Regions from separate parts of the Homo sapiens genome. Here regions 2, 3, 4, 5, 6 and 7 are each linked to region 1. The links are contacts of gene promoters, found by promoter capture Hi-C in blood cells and fetal thymus (Javierre and others, 2016). All regions are on one chromosome and are shown on one strand. The core of a region is centred on a gene start or on the middle of the fragment in contact, and the rest is flanking DNA. Distances in the headings are between cores, read along the strand shown. Region 1 holds the start of HOOK1 (hook microtubule tethering protein 1). Region 2 has its middle 33 kb from the start of TACSTD2. Region 3 has its middle 51 kb from the start of MYSM1. Region 4 overlaps MYSM1 (Myb like, SWIRM and MPN domains 1). Region 5 overlaps MYSM1 (Myb like, SWIRM and MPN domains 1). Region 6 overlaps LOC112268263 (a long non-coding RNA gene). Region 7 overlaps LOC112268263 (a long non-coding RNA gene).

Evidence for each region. Contacts are between HindIII fragments. The CHiCAGO score rates a contact against its expected background, and 5 or more counts as called.
Region 2: a fragment that was not itself captured here is called in contact with the fragment with the promoter of HOOK1 in region 1 in 1 of 17 cell types (activated CD4 T cells); the score reaches 5.8 in activated CD4 T cells.
Region 3: a fragment that was not itself captured here is called in contact with the fragment with the promoter of HOOK1 in region 1 in 9 of 17 cell types (naive CD4 T cells, non-activated CD4 T cells, total B cells and 6 more); the score reaches 9.7 in naive CD4 T cells.
Region 4: a fragment that was not itself captured here is called in contact with the fragment with the promoter of HOOK1 in region 1 in 10 of 17 cell types (total B cells, naive CD4 T cells, total CD4 T cells and 7 more); the score reaches 17.4 in total B cells.
Region 5: a fragment that was not itself captured here is called in contact with the fragment with the promoter of HOOK1 in region 1 in 10 of 17 cell types (naive CD4 T cells, naive B cells, total B cells and 7 more); the score reaches 22.5 in naive CD4 T cells.
Region 6: a contact is called between a fragment that was not itself captured here and the fragment with the promoter of HOOK1 in region 1, in 9 of 17 cell types (naive CD4 T cells, total CD4 T cells, non-activated CD4 T cells and 6 more). The highest score is 14.5, in naive CD4 T cells.
Region 7: a contact is called between a fragment that was not itself captured here and the fragment with the promoter of HOOK1 in region 1, in 11 of 17 cell types (naive CD4 T cells, naive B cells, total CD4 T cells and 8 more). The highest score is 14.3, in naive CD4 T cells.

What each region holds. Positions count from the first base shown.
Region 1 is chr1:59,813,442-59,816,344 of GRCh38, forward strand. It overlaps HOOK1 (hook microtubule tethering protein 1), which reads left to right and starts at 1,508. Exons shown (of 22, transcript NM_015888.6): 1 at 1,508-1,739. The coding sequence starts at 1,677. It overlaps LOC105378758 (a long non-coding RNA gene), which reads right to left and starts at 1,425. Exons shown (of 5, transcript XR_947426.3): 1 at 1,321-1,425. RefSeq lists a silencer at 976-1,575 and an enhancer at 1,812-2,375. The HindIII fragment of the contact is 6,303 bases long and covers 1-2,903 here.
Region 2 is chr1:58,608,420-58,611,322 of GRCh38, forward strand. No RefSeq gene overlaps it. Among named protein-coding and RNA genes, the nearest start is that of TACSTD2, 33 kb to the left of the region's middle. The HindIII fragment of the contact is 3,858 bases long and covers 1-2,903 here.
Region 3 is chr1:58,647,984-58,650,886 of GRCh38, forward strand. No RefSeq gene overlaps it. Among named protein-coding and RNA genes, the nearest start is that of MYSM1, 51 kb to the right of the region's middle. The HindIII fragment of the contact is 987 bases long and covers 864-1,850 here.
Region 4 is chr1:58,670,230-58,673,132 of GRCh38, forward strand. It overlaps MYSM1 (Myb like, SWIRM and MPN domains 1), which reads right to left. Exons shown (of 20, transcript NM_001085487.3): 12 at 1,641-1,729. Among named protein-coding and RNA genes, the nearest start is that of MYSM1, 28 kb to the right of the region's middle. The HindIII fragment of the contact is 1,307 bases long and covers 864-2,170 here.
Region 5 is chr1:58,690,027-58,692,929 of GRCh38, forward strand. It overlaps MYSM1 (Myb like, SWIRM and MPN domains 1), which reads right to left. Exons shown (of 20, transcript NM_001085487.3): 3 at 2,835-2,903; 4 at 314-391; 5 at 200-223. Among named protein-coding and RNA genes, the nearest start is that of MYSM1, 8.6 kb to the right of the region's middle. The HindIII fragment of the contact is 1,985 bases long and covers 546-2,530 here.
Region 6 is chr1:58,716,215-58,719,117 of GRCh38, forward strand. LOC112268263 (a long non-coding RNA gene) reads left to right here. Exons shown (of 9, transcript XR_007066129.1): 4 at 1,543-1,706; 5 at 2,347-2,534. Among named protein-coding and RNA genes, the nearest start is that of MYSM1, 18 kb to the left of the region's middle. The HindIII fragment of the contact is 5,773 bases long and covers 1-2,903 here.
Region 7 is chr1:58,732,386-58,735,288 of GRCh38, forward strand. All of the region lies in intron 5 of LOC112268263 (a long non-coding RNA gene), which reads left to right. Among named protein-coding and RNA genes, the nearest start is that of MYSM1, 34 kb to the left of the region's middle. The HindIII fragment of the contact is 3,546 bases long and covers 1-2,903 here.

The DNA.
Region 1 (2,903 bases), core at 258-2,757:
ACGTACATACTGTATTTTTAGAATGAGACTGATTTACACTTGGGGGCTTTTAATTGCAGTCGTCCATCAGTTTTAAATTTTCAGTGTCTAAATATAAAAACGCAGCAATATAAAAAAAAGCCAGCTGTTTTCTTACTCAGAGCATGAATTGATGAGTTTATGAATGAGTGAAGTGACAGCAAGACTAAGAATAGTCTAGCCCTTTTCAATCACCTAAGCCATCTATCAATACCTTGGAGAGCTTCCAATTTCAGGTCACCTCCCCCGACCCCCCTCCACCCCACAACATTCTCGGAAAAAGCAAATTTTCAACTGACAAAGGAAAATGGATACATTAATATCTTCCATGTTTTTCAAAACATTTCGTTTATTTTGCTACTTGAAAACGGTCTTCCCTTTTGCCCCATGTAAAATAAAATTGCTCATGATCTATGGTCCCGTGAGAGCTTATTTAAGGAGCACTGACGGATTCTATTTTCCTTATTAATGTGGCATATTTGCCACGTGTGCAAATGAAAACATCCCTTTCCAATGAGTGCCTAGGAGGAAATCAGCTCTTCCTTCCTCGAAGAGTTTTAATTCATGGGTATGATCTATTTCTTTCTTTCTTTATTTTGTTTTATATATTTTTTAGAGACAGAGTCTCGGTTTTTTGTCCAGGCTGGGGTGCAGTGGCATGATCTCGGCTCACTGCAACCTGTGCCTCCCGGGTTCAAGCGATTCTTCTGCCTCAGCCTCCTGAGTAGCTGGGATTACAGTCATGTGCCACCACCCCCGGCTAATCTTTGTATTTTTAGTAGAGAATGGGTTTCGCCATCTTGGCCTGGCGGGTCTCGAACTCCTGACCTCAGGTGATCCACCCGCCTCAGCCTCCCAAAGTGCTAGGATTACAGGCGTGAGCCACCTCGCCCAGCCGGTAGGATCTATTTCTGAAGACAATGTGGAAGCAGAGTGTGGGCCCTCCACAGGTGTAGCGAGGCGGCGTGCTACCGCGAAGAAGGAGGGAAGACGCCTGAGCCCAGCCGGTGCCCTGCTGCCCCTCTGCCTCTTCGGCCACTGGGGCTGAGCTTCAGCCTTACCAATCCCCGCCGCGCACGCGCGCTCGCTTCCCGCGCGCAACCTCCCACCCCCGCCCTCACTGCACCTGCCAGGTCATAAACCTCTTCCCACCCACTCTCACTCTCTACCCAAGGCTCAGGCTTGTCTCACGTTGATTGGCCAGAGCCCACGAGGGCACGTCCAATCAGCAATCCCCCCTGCGCAACCTATCCCGGTTCTTCCCGCCCCCGCCCCGCCCCGCCCGCCCCCCCGGGTACCTACCGTCTCTGTGACTGGTGCGCGGCCAGGTCACTCAGGGCGGCGGGGCGAGGTGTGCGGGAGTGGGCAGGACGGGTGGGAGGAGGGGAGGGGTGGGAGAAGGCGGGGCTCAGGTGCCTGGCAGCGCGGCCGGGGCCCAGGAAGGGGAGGGGGCGAACGCTGGAGCGAGGCGGGGGCGGGTGAGGAGGGGGTGACGCCGGACGCGTCGACAGCGCGAGGGTTCGCGCGTGAGCTGCGCGGGTCGGGCCTGGTACCGAGCTTTCCTGGGGGCTAGCAGGTCGTGGACGCCGGCTCCTGGAGGAGAGCCGGTAGGAGGGAGTGTGAAGGTGTCCGCGGCGTCGTCGACGGCGGCGCCGGCCATGGAGGAGACGCAGCCGCCGCCGCAGCCTAAGCTGCCCCTGTGCGACAGCCTCATGATCTGGGTGAGTGCGAGGAGGCGAGAGGGCGAGGGGGCCAGGGGGCCGAGGCGAGGAGCCTGGGGCGCCCGGTTCTCCCAGGTGAGCTGGGGCTACCTGCACAGGGTCCCGGCGCACCCTGCCCTTCTCACCTCGTGCCCTTGACCGAGAGAATGCCACCTGCGGGTCGACGGGCAGGTGTGTGGGCGCGGGTTGGTGTCCGGGGGTGGGGGTAAAGGAAGCTCTGGGAGCGTAACAGTGGAGGCTCTGGTCTCAACCAGAGGATTCGACCTGCCTGGTGCCCTAACAGCTGGGATATGAACCAAGCACCCATCCTCTTTTCTCCCCGCTGCCCCATTTTCTCCCCCTGAACAGCGCCCGAGCCCTCCACTTTCTGGATCGCCGACTCTCTTGCCTTGGTCCGCTTGGGCGTGAAGACCCTTTCCGAAACCTAACCCTGCATCCTCAAACTACCTTGCTCTACCTGGACACAGGTGGCCAGGAGGTGGCTGGCTGTTTTAGTTCCCGGACCAATGCTCCTTCAGGACTCTAGAACATCCGATTTTGTAGAAGCCGCTTCAAAGAGATGTTTGTATTTCCCGTATGGAGAAAAAGATGTGTTGGGAGTCGGGGGTCGTTTTCCCTTTTTCTCGCTGGCCCTCTCCTCCTCTAAATGGACAGCATTTTCTTTAAAGAAAATGAGTTGACATTTTTCTTTAGGATTTATCTGTGTTTAGGATTTTTGTTAATTTGTGTTGGGTCTGGACAGGCATATCTGTCCCCAGATTGTTCAATATTCCAGTCAGCAAAATGACATCCCACCTCTTAGAGTTACTTAGATATCAGTGCTGGCATTCAGGTGTGGTTCTTAACCCATATTGAGTAAAGATGGTGTTTGATGAGCCACAAGGTGCTGTTGATGATGCTCATCCCAAACCAGTTGTTTAGTTGCGTCTAGGGGAGTGTGTGCAGATGGAATGTAAACAGACGGGATCAGGAGGCTGTAATCGGTTGAGATTCCCTAGTGATCTAATGCATCTAATTCCAAAGAATGAGAAATCTAGGTTTATGGAAATGTGTGAAGCCTATTGGAAATAGCCATAATTTAAAGCATTTACACTTTGTAAGTAAATAACTTTTGCTTTTAGTGGAATGCAAATATTTAGGGTTTGTGAGTTAAAAGCAATTAGC
Region 2 (2,903 bases), core at 198-2,697, 1.2 Mb before region 1:
ATTACCTCAAACTCTTGGGCTCAAGTGATACTCCCACCTAGGCCTCCCAAAGTGCTGGGATTGCAGGCATGAGTCACTGTGCCTGGCCAAATTAATCTTTTTCTTTTCTGCATTCTTTTCTGTGTCTCTTCATTCTTTTCTGCATCTCTGACTTCCAATCTGGAATCTGGTTTCCAGCCCTAAATTTCCTGGCTTCAGCACTGGCAAATTCTATTTTCCCAGGGAGGGGAAAAAAAGTACCTGACCAGGCCCAAAGACTTCATTTATTTTCTTCATTATTTTATTTACCTCTATAGGGGCTTTTTCCAAGTCACCCTCAATGGGATTTCCTTTACTCTATCTTCTGTAACAGCCAGAGCACATCAAATACATAGAAGCTGGCATTCTAGGCCATAGTAATTGTTCAGTAGGTACTTTATCTTGTTTACTTTGTTGGATAGCCTTTCTTAACAAACTTTCTCTGATATCTCAGTCTCAGATACAAGTCTCCCTGCCTTTAACCATTGTATCAGTTAGGACTTGCATTAACTGCAAACAAGTAAAAACTCAACCACATTTTACAGTTAGGCATTACACATATGCACACATGTATGTGTACACACACACACACACACAGAGAGAGAGAGAGCGAGAGAGAGAGAACTCTAGAACTTCTAGTCCCATGGCTTAAAAGTGTCAGGACCACTGACTCCACATTTTTCCAGGCACCTTCCTAATGCCTGTGAGTCAGCTAGTATTGCTTCAGCCATGACATCTATATTCCAGACAAAAAGTAGAAGGAAGAAGAAGAAAGGAAATGTCTCTACCTGTATCAGGTATATCAACCAGACTGAGAAATCCCCACTAGTCCGTTGCTTACACCTCATTGGTCACAACTCAGTCAAATGGCTACCTCAATCTGAATGAGAGGCTAGAAAATGTGTATATATGTGTTAGTTGTGCACTTCGCTATCCTAAACAAAACTGCAGTTCTGGCAAGGAAACATTGACTTTGGGTTGACAATCAACAGTTTGCCCTCTCCCTACTCTTCCCTTGGCATAGGATGCCCTTCCCTCCTCCCCACCTACTGAAATCTTATTAGAATATCACCTCTTCCAGGAAGTCTTTTCAGGTTATCTCAGTAGGAATTTTCTTTTAATTCTTCAGTTTAATAAGCAATATCTTGTTTGCCTAGTAACTGCAAGGCGCTACTAAGATACTATAGATGGAGATAAGTAAAATAGCGTTACTGTCCTGATAGAGCTCAGTTTACTTTTAGTATCTAAAAATCAGACTCCAATTATTATTTAATGATTACAGAGTTTCTATTTGAGGTGATGAAAAGGTTTTGGAAGCAGATCATGAGGATGGTAGCACAACAGTGTGAATGTACAACTGACCCTTAAGCAACATGGGTTTGAATTGCATGGGTCTATTTACAGAAAGATTTTTTCCAACCAAATGCAGATTGAAAACACAGTATTTGCAGAATGTGAACCCAAGTGTAAAGAGGGCTAACTTTTCATGTATATAGGTTCCACAGGGCTTGACTACAGGACTTGAGTATACAGGATTTGGATATATGTTGGGGGCAGAGGAGTTCTAGAATTAATCCCACTTGTATACTGAGGGGTGTCTATAATTAACACCACTGAATTGTACACTTCAAAATGATTACAATAGCAAATTCTGTGTTATATATATTTTATCACAGACAGGCAAATCGGACTCCAAATCCAAAAATGCCAGCATGGTGTGAAAATACAGACAGAAAGGAGGTATGGGTGTTGGGGTGCATAGAAAAGTCATTTAAATTACCTAGGCATTGGATCCTGTTCTGATGCTGTCTATTAGTTCATCTTCACACTGCCATAAAGACATATTCAAGACTGGGTAATTTATGAAGAAAAGAGGTTTTATTGACTCACAGTTCTGCATGGCTGGGGAGGCCTCAGGAAACTTACAATCATGGTGGAAGGGAAAGAGGCATGTCCTACATGGAAGCAGATGAGAGAGAGTGAGCAAGAGCAGGGAAAACTGCCCTATAAAACCATCAGATCTCTTGAGAACTCACTCATTATCATGAGAACAGCATGGGGGGAAGTGCCCCCATGATTCAATCACCTCCCACCTTGTCCCTCCCTTGACACATGGGGATTGTGGGGATTACAATTCAAGATGAGATTTGGGTGGGGACACAGAGCCAAACCACATCACACTGCTAGTTCTGTCTACTGAGAAGCAGATGCGGAGATGCAGTTAGGACAAACAGGCATATTTGGGTAAACTTGTGAAAGGAATTTCTTCTACTTTCACAAGAAACTTCTTTTCTTAGAAGCAGGACTGGTCAGAGGAAGCCATTAAACCGTGAAGTAGATCAAGTAGAAAAAGCCTCTCTGCCTAAAGGGGAGCTCTAGAGGAAAGAGCCCATTACAGGAATCCTGCTTTGGGTGGAAGTGCCTAAACCTTGCTCAGTCATTGGCTGGGGCTGCACTGGGAAGAACTGAAGGAGACCAGAAAGAACAAGTGGAAGCTGTCAGCCCACCACCTTCTCACAGCTAGGCAAGGCATCCTTTCTTGCAAGGGAATAAGTACAGCCCACCTCTGTCTGCCACAGCTGCTACTAGCTATGTGATCTTGTGGCATTTGAGCTTTCTGTGCCTCAGTTTTTTCATTTGCAAAATAAATATAATAATAAAAATAGCAACCCAATCTGGTTATTGGAACAACTATATGAGCTAATGAATGAATAGTGCTTAGAATAGTGTCTGTTTAATTATAGGTGCTCATTAAATGTGGGCTATCATTATCAATATTGCCAAGCAGAATGTACATTATGAAATAAACACAAAACTAAATTACATATATATGATACAGTAAATATAAATCAAAGTTCTGATATCTTCTGGACCTTGATTGGTTT
Region 3 (2,903 bases), core at 107-2,606, 1.2 Mb before region 1:
TGCCCTCCTGAAACATCACTCAAGCACAGCAAGGTAGTAGGGGGGCTTTGTTTTGAGAGACGTGACAATAATGAATCAATGCATGGGGTCTGACTTAGCAGGTCTGGAGAGTGGGAGAAGCAGACCCTCAAGAAGTGACCTGATTTACCTTGTGGAACCCCCAAAGCTCAAGAATTTGTAGCACCAGGGACATCTGGAATTGGGGATGCCAGTGGGGCTAGAATGATGATAGCTGGTAGAAGGTGGGTTGTGGGTTTAAGGCTAGGCACGGTGGCTCACGCCTGTAATCCCAGCACTTTGGGAGGCTGCCGGGGGAGGATCACTTGAGGTCAGGAGTTGGAGACCAGCCTGGCCAACATGTTGAAACCCCATCTCTACTAAAAATAGAAAAATTAGCCAGGCGTGGTGGTGAATGCCTGTAATCCCAGCTACTCAGGAGGCTGAGGCAGGAGAATCGCTTGAACCTGGGAGATGGAGGTTGCAGTGAGCCGAAATCACACCACTGCACTCCAGCCTGGGTGGCACAGTGAGACTGTCTCAAACACACACACACACACACACACACACACACACACACACACACACACACACACACAGAGAGAGAGAGAGAGAGAGAGAGAGAGAGAGAGAGAGAAAGTGGGTTTAAGATGTAGTTATCCCTTAGTGGCTTCCTGCTTCCTTAGCAGGCTACTGACCATCTCACCCCCAAGAGGGTAGTCGCTGCCTGGTCAGTCTCTGGAGAAAGTGAAGCAGAACCTTTCTGGAGTGGGGAAAAATTGGAGGATTAGGTGAAAGTTTACATGCTCAATTTTGAGGTGTCTATATCTTTTCTCCTACTTGGCTCCCCAGGGATCTGGAAGCCAAGCTTAAAACTTGGGTGAGAGATTGGGCAGACATTGGAAATAAACAGGGCCAACCATAAGGGCCACTGTACTTCCCAGTGCCTCCTCCCTTCAGCCAAATCGGCTCTGCTTGGTTCCTTCCTTCCTTCCCTCTCTCCCTCCGTCTCTCTCTCTTTCTAGATGTAACTCATAGATCATCAAGTTCACCACTTTTAAGTGTGGTTTTTAGTATCCGGAGTGGTTTTTAGTATATTCACAAGGTTGTACAACCGTCACCATCACCACTAATTCCAGAACATGTCATCACCCCAAAAAGACATCCTGTATCCATTAGCAGTCACTCCCCAATCCCTTCTTCCCACCTGAGACTCTGGCAACTTCTAATCTACTTTTTCTATCTATGATTTGCTTATTCTGGACATTTTCTAGAAATGGAATAATACAAAATGTGGTCATTTATGTCTGACTTCTTCACTAAGCATAATGTTTTCAAGGCTCATTAATGTTGTAATATATGTCAGTGCTTTATTTCTCTTTGTGGCTGAATAATAATTCCATTGTATGGGTAGACCATGTTTAATTTATCCATTTATCAGTTGATATCCAGTTGGGTTTTTTCTATTTTTTGGTTATTACTTGTTTTATATGCTTGGTTTTAATGCAAGATTTGTTTTCAACAGCGATTTCTAACTAAATAAAAGTCTGAATACTACTGGCTTAGAGAAACCTTTTCATTTTAGGATTTGAAGATGTTGGCTGTTGATTGCCTGAATCTCTTTCCATGAGGAACATGAAAGCACCCCTCTCTAAAATAGCATTGGACACCCTGGGGGACCTGACCCCATGTCCACATCCCCTTCTGTGGTCCCCGACTCCTAGCCACACACGATGCACACCAGCCTCACGGAAATCTACAATTCTTGGCACTGTGCCACCGCTTCCGGGGCACCTTCTGCCTAGAGTGCCTTTTCTCTCTTCTCTTCCTGTCCAGATCTATTTCACCAAGAAAGCTTTTGACCAGAAATCCAGGGCTCCTATTGTACAGCCCTGTCTCTCTACAAAACCAGAAGGAACTTCATGCCACATAGAGCCCTGCAGGTCCCACAGCCTGTCCCAGGTCCCTGGATCAGGAGGGAGGGCTCTTGAACGCGTAAACCCCAGGGACATGGCAAAATCCTTTCCTTCTCCTTTTGCAGCAACAAAAGGCCCCCAAGCCCTCCAAATGTCTGCTTTTTAGCATTGCTATTTTGGTTCTATTGTTGTTCTCCCTCCTAAGGAGGAGACGGTAACTAACTGCATTCTGGGTCTGCCCAGAGTATGATATATCTTCCTCCGCTGGGCCCTGGGCAGAGAAGCTGGGCTGCATTGATTTCCTGGGTGAAACGGAAGTGCAATTCACAGGCATCTTTCAAAGTGGAGAAAGGTCCTGGGTGTGGGCTGGAGCTGGACCTGTCTCTCCTGGCTCCCCTCAGGCAGGGCTGTGGATGATGCACCTAGTCCTGTTTGCCTGACAGAAAAATCACTTGCCCAGAAAATGCAGAACCCATCCCACTGCTGGACCTCAAATCCAGCATGACTAAGGCACCTTAGTCATCTTTAAATGGATTCTACCCTTTTGCCTGTTTTTTCTGTTTTTTGGTTTTTTTTTTCATTTTGTTTTCCATGTATGAACCCCACAGAAGAGAACACAAGGTGATGGATGAAAATGTTTGAGCAGTTGCTACCCAACTCGTAGTGATAAAAATACTCAGGATATAAAGTGGTAACACCGCTGACGCCTCATAATTACCCAAGTTATGTTGCACTTTTGATTAGAAAATGCAATTATGTTTATAGTGTTATAATCTCACCTGCCTTTGTGTTTTTGAGAAAATTGCAAGAGAATACCTCTCCTGGAGTAGGCTGCCCTTGCTAATCAGTTGATTCATGTCTCTTGAAGTGCTCATTGCACTTAAGATAATGAAGAGATGTGGCTTCTCCGGGGCTCTCAGCTCCCACCTAGACTCTGGGGCTTGTTTTTCAGAACAAACAGCTTTGTCTCAGTTGTTTTCTACTCCTCAC
Region 4 (2,903 bases), core at 267-2,766, 1.1 Mb before region 1:
CACAAAAAGAAACTGAAGGCCAAGATAGATGAGAAAATAGCACAGAAAGAACATCCTGGAGTACTTAAGAACCACGGATATGGAACCGCTGTCAGTGTTTGTTGAGGAACTGCAGAGAATGGGAAAGTTGCTGAAGGACTAGAAATAGACAATTATTGAGCTTGTTTCACAATACAAAAAAGCAGACTGCAGAAAAGGAGGAACTAGATGTTGAACAGTAGTAAAATTCTAGAAAAAATTATGAAACAGCTGATTTGTGATCCTTAACCAAGTGAAGAGGTGACTAAGTAAAATAATGAGTTCATGAAAAGTCATGATAAGTAGACCTTATTGTAGACACTATTGATAGGAATAATCTGTTAGAAACTAAAGACTTAAATATATTTTATCTGAAATTAAACAAGACATCCGATATGATTATCCTTCTGTATAAGATGAAGATATATGCGTTAATTGTGGTAATCTATATAGCTGATTGAAGAATGAATGTCTTCGTTGTTTAAATATATACAATGAGGTTTACATTTATTCAATTAAACATTGCAATCAGTGAGTAATGGCAGGAAAGGCAAGCTTATTGAAATGTTAATGATACAGTGCTACAAAGGCTAAAATGAGAAAAGTGGATCTGGATTCAAAAAGATCCTGAAGACCTTGAACAATGACTTGAAAATCACAATAAATATAAGTCTCACATTTAGAGTCAGAAAATCAATTATCTGGATACTGGATGAGGAGTCCTAGCTTATGGAGGACTATTTTTTACATAGTTTATCTAATTCAGTCTCACGACAACTGTGTAAGTTTTATTTTTACTTTAGAGAGGTAATATATACTGTAATGATTAGGGGTATGAACTCTTAAGCTTAACACTTGGGTTTAAAATCAACAGCTCCACTACTTGACAGCGTGAGCAAGTTATTAAACCTCTCTATGCCTCTCAGTTTCCTCATCTATAAAATGGGAGTGAGAACATTAACTAATGCACAGGGTTGTCATGAAGACTATATGAGCTAATAAATATAAAGTGCTTAAAATACAGCTAACAGTGTTATTTAAATTATTGTTTAATAAATGAGAACCTAAGGATTACCCGAGGACATTTATCAGGCAAAAATATGATCTAGTGGCATTCCTGGATATCTTCTTTTAAAAGGTACACTGACAAAACTACAGTCTATTCAATGGGGCATCTGCAGGAAGAGGGAATAGAAAATCGGAACATTTAACTTATTTGGTGACCCTTAATTTTAAAAGGCTCAAATTTTAGATTACACATGCATTAGAAAACAACAAACCATGCAACAACTTGCTAACAATTAGTACCACCCAAAGAAAACCCAGTCATTTCATGAAGGTTCCTGTCCATAGCGTCTAGAGTTGAATGACCAACCTGTCCTAAACAGGGCCCCTTTACAACATATGTTGGATCATATGTTCAATGAATCTGAACAAATTTAAAATGTTTGTTCAAGGTCTTCCAAATTCATAATCAGTGAAACAAAAAAAATCTAAAAAATTGTAGCAGTATTTTTTTAAACTTAATGTGAACAATATAATGCAGCTATTGAATATTTTTTCATATATTATCTAGCCATTTGTGATAAATGTTTAAAAACCACATTTATATAACACTACACCTTTTTGTTGGTCTTGGCACTTTTAAAGATTTAACAGGTCTGCCTTTTTCCTCTTCTCTTCTTTTTGCCAACTCCTCAGCAGAGAGATGCTAAAACAAAATGCCAATTGATTAAGGAGTCCATCATCTACTAAGAGGCAGAATAAAAATAGTCCTTTAAAATCAAATTGAAGGGCATGTGAGGACAAGAGAGACTAAATTGATATAGATGGGCTTCCTTTTTGCTACCAACATGTAGAAAGACTGGACAGTATTTTTAAAAAATTGTTTCAAAAGACACGGCCATCCCAAACTGAAAATTTACTCCTTCTCTTGATTTGCCCATTTCAATCAATGGTACCAGTCACCCAGGTTCAAAAACGTCAGAATCACCTGAGTCTTTTATTTCCCATTTCTACTTACCATATTCTACTGTGTTGAGTTTTCTTTCACAACTGAGAGACAGTGCAGAGTAATGATTAAGAACAGATTCTGGATCTAGAATGTCTGGCCCAGTTATTTACTAGCTTGGTGACCCTAGGCAAATTCTAAAGCTTTCATGCTTCAGTTACCTCATCTTTAAAAATGGGAACAATAAAATTAATAATAAAAAGTAAACAATAATACCACTGTCATGGTATTATTGTGAAGACTGAGTTAATGTTTATAAAATACTGACATTGTCTGACACACAGTAAGCCCTTTATAAGTGTTTATAAAATAAAGTAAATCTCTATTCCATTTCTACGACCAACTTACACCCTAGTCCAAATGAACTATGCACCTTTTCCAGAATATATCTAGTATTTTCCCATGTCTCCAGCTTTGTTCCCTCAGCCTAAAGTGTATTCATCTCCATTTTGAGATTCTTCTGCAGATCCTTCAGATCAGATTATACCCCACATACTCTACGAAACCTGCCCTGATCACAGCCTTTGGGAGAAACTTACAATTCTTGGGACCAACCTTATTGAACTTACCATAGGTTTTGTCTTTCCTATTAGAAATACAAGCCCCTTATGGGAAGGATGAATTACTAATTACTGTGCCTAGAATAGTACTCAGGTGAGAAGTTGAGGGCAGGGAATGCGGAGGAGGAAAGAGAACTCAAGTTTGAGTACTTTGTGCATGCAAGGCTTACTGAATACCTAGTACTAGCATCTTTATATAGTCTATCTCGTTTCTTTCTTACAACAATACTTTGAGGGAGGTATTATTATTATTCACAATTCGTAAGTTAAAAAAGCATGAGATTCTGTGAGATTAAGTAGTTGCTTAAAGTAAC
Region 5 (2,903 bases), core at 288-2,787, 1.1 Mb before region 1:
ATGAAAGAAATTCTGGCAAGTAAATAACACCATAAAATTATACTTGTGCCACTCCAACATCTTTATTAAAAAAACTGTTTTTATATCTACTTTAAGGTCAAGAGGGCTTTTCCACAGGCCAACTATAATTAAAAAAAAATTATTCCATAATTTTTAACTAATGAAAACAGATTTATAAATATAAAATATAAGTACATACATGATTTTTGCTGTTTTCTGCAGACTGCATCACATGAAAAAAGAAAATAAGGAAGCGTGTGAGGTTTCTAAAACTACAATCCAGACTTTTAGAAATATTATAAATTGATTTTACCTCTTCATGTATTTTTTATCATCTTCCTTTTGATCAAGCCAGACTTTTTCCGGTTGTGATTTTTTAGATAAATAATATCTGTGTAACTATCAAGGAAACTTTTTAAACAATATTACAGTCATGTAATTTTTACATTACTTATACAAAACGTGTGCTACATAAATGTTATTAATAGTTCCCTTGTCTTCCCAATTAGAAGTGACTACAAGAAACAGCCTCCATGTTTAAATCAAGCTTGTCCAATCCTCTGCCTGCAGGCTACATGTGGCCCAGGACGGCTTCAAATGTGGCCCAACACAAATTCGTAAACTTTCTTAAAACACCATGAGATTATTTTGTGATTTTTTTTTTTTTTTTTGGCTCATCAGCTATCATTAGTGTATTTTATGTGGGGCCCAAGAAAATTCTTCTTCCAGTGTGGCCCAGGGAAGCCAAAAGACTGGACACCCTGGTTTAAATATTTTCTTCCAAAACATATGGAGAATGTAATAGGTAAACTTGGTTGGTTGTCCAAGGCAATTCGGGAATAATTTTCCACATTTCTAAAGCCAACAGAGAAGAATCCAAGGATCTTCTCTACCTTAATAAAAATTGCAAACATTTAGATCAAATCTACCAGAGAACTTCCCTCTTAAAGTTATTAGAACTAGCCTGATGAGGCCAGGCGCGGTGGCTCACACCTGTAATCCCAGCACTTTGGAAGGCCGAGGCAGGCGGATCACAAGGTTAGGAGATCGAGACCATCCTGGCTAACACGGTGAAACCCCATCTCTACTAAAAAACAGAAAAAATTAGCCAGGCGTGGTGGCGGGCGCCTGTAGTCCCAGCTACTCAGAAGGCTGAGGCAGGAGAATGGAGTGAACCTGGAAGGCGGAGCTTGCAGTGAGCCAAGTTTGAGCCACTGCACTCCAGCCTGGGCGACAGAGCGAGACTCCGTCTCAAAAAAAAAAAACAAAAACAAAAAACTAGCCTGATGAAGTACTTTAAGATTAGCCTGAGATATTCTTCACTTAACAAGTATTTATTGGCTATCTACTGCATATGTCAGGTACTATGCTAGGTATAGATGCTGAGAACAAAGATACTCTCATTATTTGTTTCCATATCTAGAAGTGAACCACTGACTACTTAAGTGTTTTATCTAGACAGTGGCCACCAACCACATGTGCATCGCTGGTTTCTGACCAGTGGAAACACTATTTGCATGAACTAGGATGTACTCTAAGTATAAAACACAGTGGATTTTGGCCGGGCGCAGTGGCTCACACCTGTAATCCCAGCACTTTGGGAGGCCGAAGCAGGTAGATCCCGAGGTCAGGAGTTCAAGACCAGCCTGGCCAACATGGTGAAACCCCATCTCTACTAAAGATACAAAAAATCAGCCAGGTGTGGTGGTGTGCGCCCATAATCCCAGCTACTCAGGAGGCTGAGGCAGGAGAATCGCTTGAACCAGGGAGGCAGAGGTTGCAGTGAGCCAAGATCGCACCATTGCACTCCAGCCTGGGTGACAAGGCGAGATTCCGTCTCAAAAAACAAACAAAACAAAACACAGTGGATTTCAAAGACTTAGTACAAAAATGTAAAATTATCTCATTAATGTTTTTATCTTGATTAAATGTTAAAATGAGAATATTTTAAATATTTTAGGTTATATAATATATAGTTAAAATTAATTTCCTTTGTGTTAAATGAGGATATCGGAAAATTTTAAATTATATGTGACTTTCTCTGAATAGCAATAATCTAGGCTATAACTGCAATGTCTGGGGAGAATTAGAGAATAAGAAAGCCTAAATGGGGTTAACCTATGATAATTAAAGGTACAGAGACACTCTAAAATCAACATGGCAATAAGTGGAAATAGTGGGAACAGAGAAATTCTGGCTTAGTAAGGAGAAATCCATAAAATGAAGATGAAGGAGATTAATAAACCACTACTTATTAGACTATGACTAGCTATCTTTATAAATCATAAAATCAGAAATCATTTCATTCAATCCTCTCCTTTTACATGTACGAAAACTGAGCTATAAATAAGGATCCACAAATGTAGGGAAAACATCTTCATTCTATAGTATTTGTTTTGTGCTTTTTATTTAGATTCCTCCCACGTAACACCTGTAAATTATGAAGTGAGAAGAACTTTTACATGTTCCAACTCTGTGCCCTTGGAAAATTAACATCTCTGGGTTTCAGCTTATATAACTTAAAAATGCAAGCTTGGACTTAAGGTTCAAAATGACTTAAATATTCTATCATTTCTACTCAATATTCAGATATCATAAACAGTTGGCTAGTGACAGAAACTCAAAATATGCAATCAGATCTCAGATGTTACAGTAAAACAGAACCTGAGGAAGAAAATGCTGCTTTTTGCATACATAGGTAACATGAAATTATATAATAGCAGTCTGGTGCTGTATAAAATCCATCTAGTAAACAGTGGCCTCTTGTAAATTTTGCATTTATAGATTTTTTTCACCCTGAAACCTGTACTTTCCTCATAATCATTAAAGGATACTCTTCTTCCAACAACATTTTCTCAATAACAGCTCTGTTCTCTTCACTGATGGTGTTATCCAAGGTCCAA
Region 6 (2,903 bases), core at 199-2,698, 1.1 Mb before region 1:
CACACTTGGTACAATTCTTCATACATATATGATTCATATGTGTTCAACAAATATTTGTTGAATTAAACTGAACAGGTCTGTATTAGTCTGCTCTTGCATTGTAATAAAGAGCTACCTGAGACTGGGTAATTTATGAAGAAAAGTGGTTTAATTGGCTCACATTTCCACAGGCAGTATAGGAAGCATGAATGAGGAGGCCTCAGGAAACTTACAATCATGGCAGAAAGTGAAACGGAAGCAGGCACATCTTACATGGCTGCAGTAGGAGGAAGGTGGGGGTGGGAAGGTGCTGCACACTTTTAAACAACCAGATCTCTTGATAATTCAGTCAACAGCCTGAGAACAGCACCCGGGATGGGGGGATGGCATTAAACCATTAGAAACTGCCCCTATGATCCAATCACCTCCCACCAGGCCCCACCTCCAACACTGAGGATTACAATTGAACATGAGATTTGGGTGGGGACACAGACTGCATCCAAGCCACATCAAGGTCTCTATCTTTACCTATTTTGACACAGCTCCTAATGTCCTACCTCAGACATAGGACATTTCATAGGATGAGAATCTCATCATCTATTTTAGAACCCTGCATAATATAATAAAATAGACCTACTAAGAGCATCAACAAAAATCTCATATTGCCATCTTTTTGTTTATTCTGACTTGAGGACTTAAAGTGTAGAAGGTCTTCCACAATGTGTTTTACGTATAAACTCCATGCCACAGGTTGTTTTCTATCACATTTATGAGAAAGCCAAGAACTGTTTTTAGAAAGTCATTGTTTAGGTAAAATATGATAGTAAAAATAATTTTGAAAGTACAGATATTGTGTTAATTATTTACATATGAGGGTGTGTTTTGAAGGCCACATGCTGTCCCTAACTGTTCTAACCCTTCGAGGGATTTACTTTGGAAGAAAAAACTGGACATCAAGGAATTATTCATATACATTTTCTGTGTTTTCATTTAAGATGGGAAGGGATTTTTCAAGGTTTTCCACGCTTTTATTTGATTTAATTTCATGCTCACTGAAGCCCATTTCCATCACAGTCACCAACACCTTGAACTTGCTGTGATTTTCCCCTGTTAAGCAGCCCAGATGAGATTCAGTGAGATTCTTGGCTTCTAGGCCCCATGTCTTGGAAACAGACCTCACTGCATCAGTGAAGATTCCAGGGCATTCTTCTTACTGATCCGACTAAGCCTTTGAAAATATAATATGACCACTTGGATTTTTCAGCATTAGCTTGAATCTGGCATAAAAGGAGCCAGAGATGTTGGAAGGCTCTGTCGCCTGGGGGTGCAGTGGTTACACCTCATTAGCCCCAGAGCAAGGGCCCCTTTCCCCTTTTTCCTTGGGCCTCTGTATCTTCCCATCCTGGCCTGGGGCTGAGACTGCCTGGGCCTGGGGGAGGGAGCACAGAGTCATCTGAGGCCCTTCCCAGGACAGCCTGTAGACCCACACCCACCCTTACATTCTACAGCAGGGATTTCATCTTTATTTCCATTTTGTCTGATCACGGCTTGTTCTAATTTAAGAACTTAGGTGGATTCTCAGAAAGAAAAAGGTGATGTTCACTGGCATGAACAGTGAATGGTGGAGTGGAACGTGAACAGGCTGGAGCTCTGGCTGTGCCATTTATTAGCCATGTGCCTTTAGAAGGTCCTCATCTTCTCCAGCCTCAGTTTCACCATCTGTAATGGTAGGTAAGAACCTCTACTTCAGAAGGCTGTTGGAAAGACGAAATGGTATGAGACAAAATGAAATAATGACATCCTAAGTGGAAAGGGCTCGCCTGGGGTCTGGTTAACAAGTATCACTGCCTCAGGTAACAGTCTTTCTCAGCAGTGCTGCATACAAACCTCCTCTGGCTTTGACCTTAACAGCCATTGTAGGTCAGTGTTCATAGCAGCCCCCACTCAAGTGAGGGTCCAGCTCTGCAATGAGTTGTGCCTAAGAAGGTCACAGGGGACCAGCCCCTGCTGTGTAGCGCAGGGAGGAGGGCTCTGTCATTTCTGGCCATCATGGCCCTTTGCAGTCAGCCTCAGCCTGAGATAAATATCACACTCTTGCATCTCACTTTATATCTGAGATCATCTGGCCCTGCCCACATCCTCCTCTGCTAAATGAGTAGAACAGACGGACTCTAAAGCTGCAGAATGATTTTAAAAATAAATAAAACCAAATAACAACTTGAGTCTAATGATTTCCCTTCAGGTTGTGCAAGCAGGAAAGTTTAAAATCACATAAGAATGACTTGAGGGAAAAGAACACCCCTTTCTGCTCCCGGTAAACACAATCAGCTTTGCTGGTCTGGGTTTTTTAATGATCTGCATTTACAGGAGTATCCATGACCCAGAGAGAGTATCAGTGTCAAGAATCTGCCAGTGAGAAAGTGATTTGAAGCAGCTCTGGAGTTCAGATGGCCACGGGTGCAAGTGCCTGCTCTGGTGTGCTTTGCCTCTGGAAAGATGCCAAGTCTTTGAGAATCTTTGCTGCATCAGCCATGCTACATCCTGAGGACTTGGAGGTGAGGAAATCCTGTGTGCACTTGTTTCCTTCCCTTCAAATGATATATCCCAGAAAAATGGCAAGCTCTCTGCTTACTAACTCTTTTCTTTTTCTTTAGTTCCCCCTTAGCTTTCTCTCTCCTTTCTTCCGTCTTTCTCTTGCCTCCTTTCATTTTTGGTAAAATCCAAAGCGAAATGTCAACTCAGAGGACATAGCTGTTTGTCTTCACCACCTACAAACTGTATTTCCTGGATCAAGCCGCTTAACTCCATTGAACTGTTTTTAGCATCCTGAAAATGGGGAATCACACTTTCCACTTATCCAAGCATTTGCTCATTCGTTTATTAATAATGTAACACCCTTGAATGCCAGGCCCTGAACTGAAGAT
Region 7 (2,903 bases), core at 271-2,770, 1.1 Mb before region 1:
AGTTTTTCTTGTTTTCCTTATCACTTAGTAAACCAAAAGTTAACAGAAAGAACTCTTGGGACAGCTTCCCATTGTATGTGTGAGAGCCTGGATGTGAACCTAGGTCTTTGCAACTCTAATGCCTATGTTCATTTTACATAGTTACACTGTTCTCTAACAATATATGTGAGAACTGAGTTATGACAAGTGAGTAGACATTTTCCAGATGGGTTACGAGACAAAGGGCATTTTAAGCAGAGACAACAGCATAAGCACAAGGCCTTGCATTATGGCAGAAGGGCCAAGATGAGGTCAAGTTGCACAGATAATGTAAGGGAAGACTTCCCATAAGAAGTTTTGAATGCATTGAAATACGTAACTCGTCATTCATTACTTCGGTAATTCAACAGTTATTTATTGAGTGCCTTTACATGTCAGGTAACATGTTACAAAACTGGAATTGGAAATTACTCAAATCCTATGTCAAAATATCACTGCATAGGCTGGGCTCAGTGGCTCGTGCCTGTAATCCCAGCACTTTGGGAAGGCAAGGCAGGTGGAACACTTGAGGTCAGGAGTTCGAAACTAGTCTGGCCAACATGGTGAAACCCCGTCTCTCCTAAAAATACAAAAGTTAGCCAGGTGCAGTGGCACATGCCTGTAATTCCAGCTACTTGGGAGGCAGGAGAATCGCTTGGACCAGGGAGGCGGAGGTTGCAGTGAGCCGAGATTGTGCCACTGTACCGCAGCCTGGGTGACAGAGTGAGACACTGTCTCAAAAAAAAAAAAAAAAAAGAAAAAAAAATCTCTGCTTATATCTAGAACTTCCTCTCCTCCTTTAAAACAAACAAGTCTGAGAGGCCAGGTGCGGTGGCTCACGCCTGTAATCCCAGCACTTTGGGAAGCCGAGGTGGGCGGATTATGAGGTCAGGAGATTGAGACCATCCTGGCTAACACAGTGAAACCCCGTCTCTACTAAAAAATACAAAAAATTAGCCAGGTGTGGTGGCGGGCGCCTGTAGTCCCAGCTACTCGGGAGGCTGAGGCAGGAGAATGTCGTGAACCCGGGAGGCAGAGCTCGCAGTGAGCCGAGATCACGCCACTGCACTCCAGACTGGGCGACAGAGTAAGACTCCGTCTCAAAAAATTAATAAATAAATAAAAAAGAGTGTCCCGCAGAACAACAGTTCCTTGGGATATTAACAGGTAAAACAAACAAGTCTGTACAATTTTGTCTCATTGGCAAAACTAGCAGCTAAAGTCCCTTAGCTGGCTTTTGAGTGAAATAAACTATGAATACTTATAATAGATTAAGAGGCAAGCATAAGGGAAAGTAAAGATAAGCAGAGAAAAGTGACAATATCTTTGGGCTGGGGAGGGCCTTGTCTGTCATATGGTTCAACCTGTTTATTCTGCTGAGTTCTGGAGTGAAGGGACTTGCCCAAGCTCTCTTCATTCCCTGTATTGGTTCCTTTCTTCTCATACTCCCTGCCAGGGTCTGCCTTCAGTGTCTCATCATGTTTCGCTTGGATTGTTATAGTAGCCTTCAAACAAATCTCCCCGCTTTTACACAGCAGCTCAGAGATAATTCAGAAAAGCAACTTCTGGATTTTACTTTGTTCCTCAAAGCCGTTCAATATCTTCATGTTGTCTCAGGTTGTGCTCCCCAAACTGTTGTATGTGACCAGGTCCCAGAGCCATAAGCTAAACATAATATCACTTTAAAATGCTAATTTTACGTGATGGCTAGTAACTAAAAACATCATTTTACATGAAAACAAATGAATATATTATAGCCAAGATGAAAAATTTGGATGGGCTGAAATATTTCAAAGAATTTTTTTTTAGTTGTAGCAGTTGGTGTCAGAACCCTTGCATATTAGTTCATACTCATATTACTATAAAGAAATGCCTGAGACAGGGTAATTTACAAGAAAAGAGGTTTAATTGGCTCACAGTTCTGCAGGCTGTACTGGAAGCATGGTGGCATCTGCTTCCGGGGAGTCCTCAGGGAGATTTTCATCATGGCAGAAGGCAAAGAGGGAGCAGGCACTTCACATGGCAAAAGCAGGAGCAAGAGAGAGGGAAGGGGGAGGTGCCACACACTTTGAAACCACCAGATCTCATGAGAATTCACTCACTGTCCTGAGGACAGTACCAAGGGGACAGTACTAAAACATTCATGAGAAATTGTCCCTATGATCAATCACCTCCCACCAGGCTCCACCTCCAACATTGGGGATCACAGCTCAACATGAGATTTGCAGAGGGAACACAGATCCAAACATATTACCTTAGCAGCACAAGTTTGCTCTTTCCGCCATAAGAGGTGTTTCAGTGGGAAAGTTTATAATTTCTTGGCCCATAGAATAAATGCCAAGTCATTAGTTCATATCCCAGTTTCTCCAAGATCTGTTCAGGCCTGCTTGCCACTCACCCTCTTCTCTTTAATAGATTCTTGGAGACTCCACTCATCAACCATCCCATACCACTTGTATTAGTTTGTTCTTGCATTGCTATAAAGAAATACCTGAGACTGGGTAATTTATAAGGAAAAGAGGGTTTAATTGGCTCATGGTTTCACAGGCTGTAAAGGAAGCATGATGCTGGCATCTGCTCAGTTTCCAGGGAGGCCTCAGGAAACTTTTAATCATGGTCGAAGGTGAAAGGGAAGCAGGGATGTCTTACATGGTCAGAGAAGGAGCAAGAGAGAGAGGGGAGAGGTGCTACACACCATTACACAACCAGATCCCATGATAACTCACTGGCTCACTACACAGTACCAAGGGAGGATGGTGCTAAACCATTCATGAGAATTTCACCCCCATGATCCAACCACCTCCAACACTGAGGATTGCTATTCAGCACGAGATTTGGGCAGGAACAGAGATCCAAACCATATCACCACTTAAAATAGTAACTAC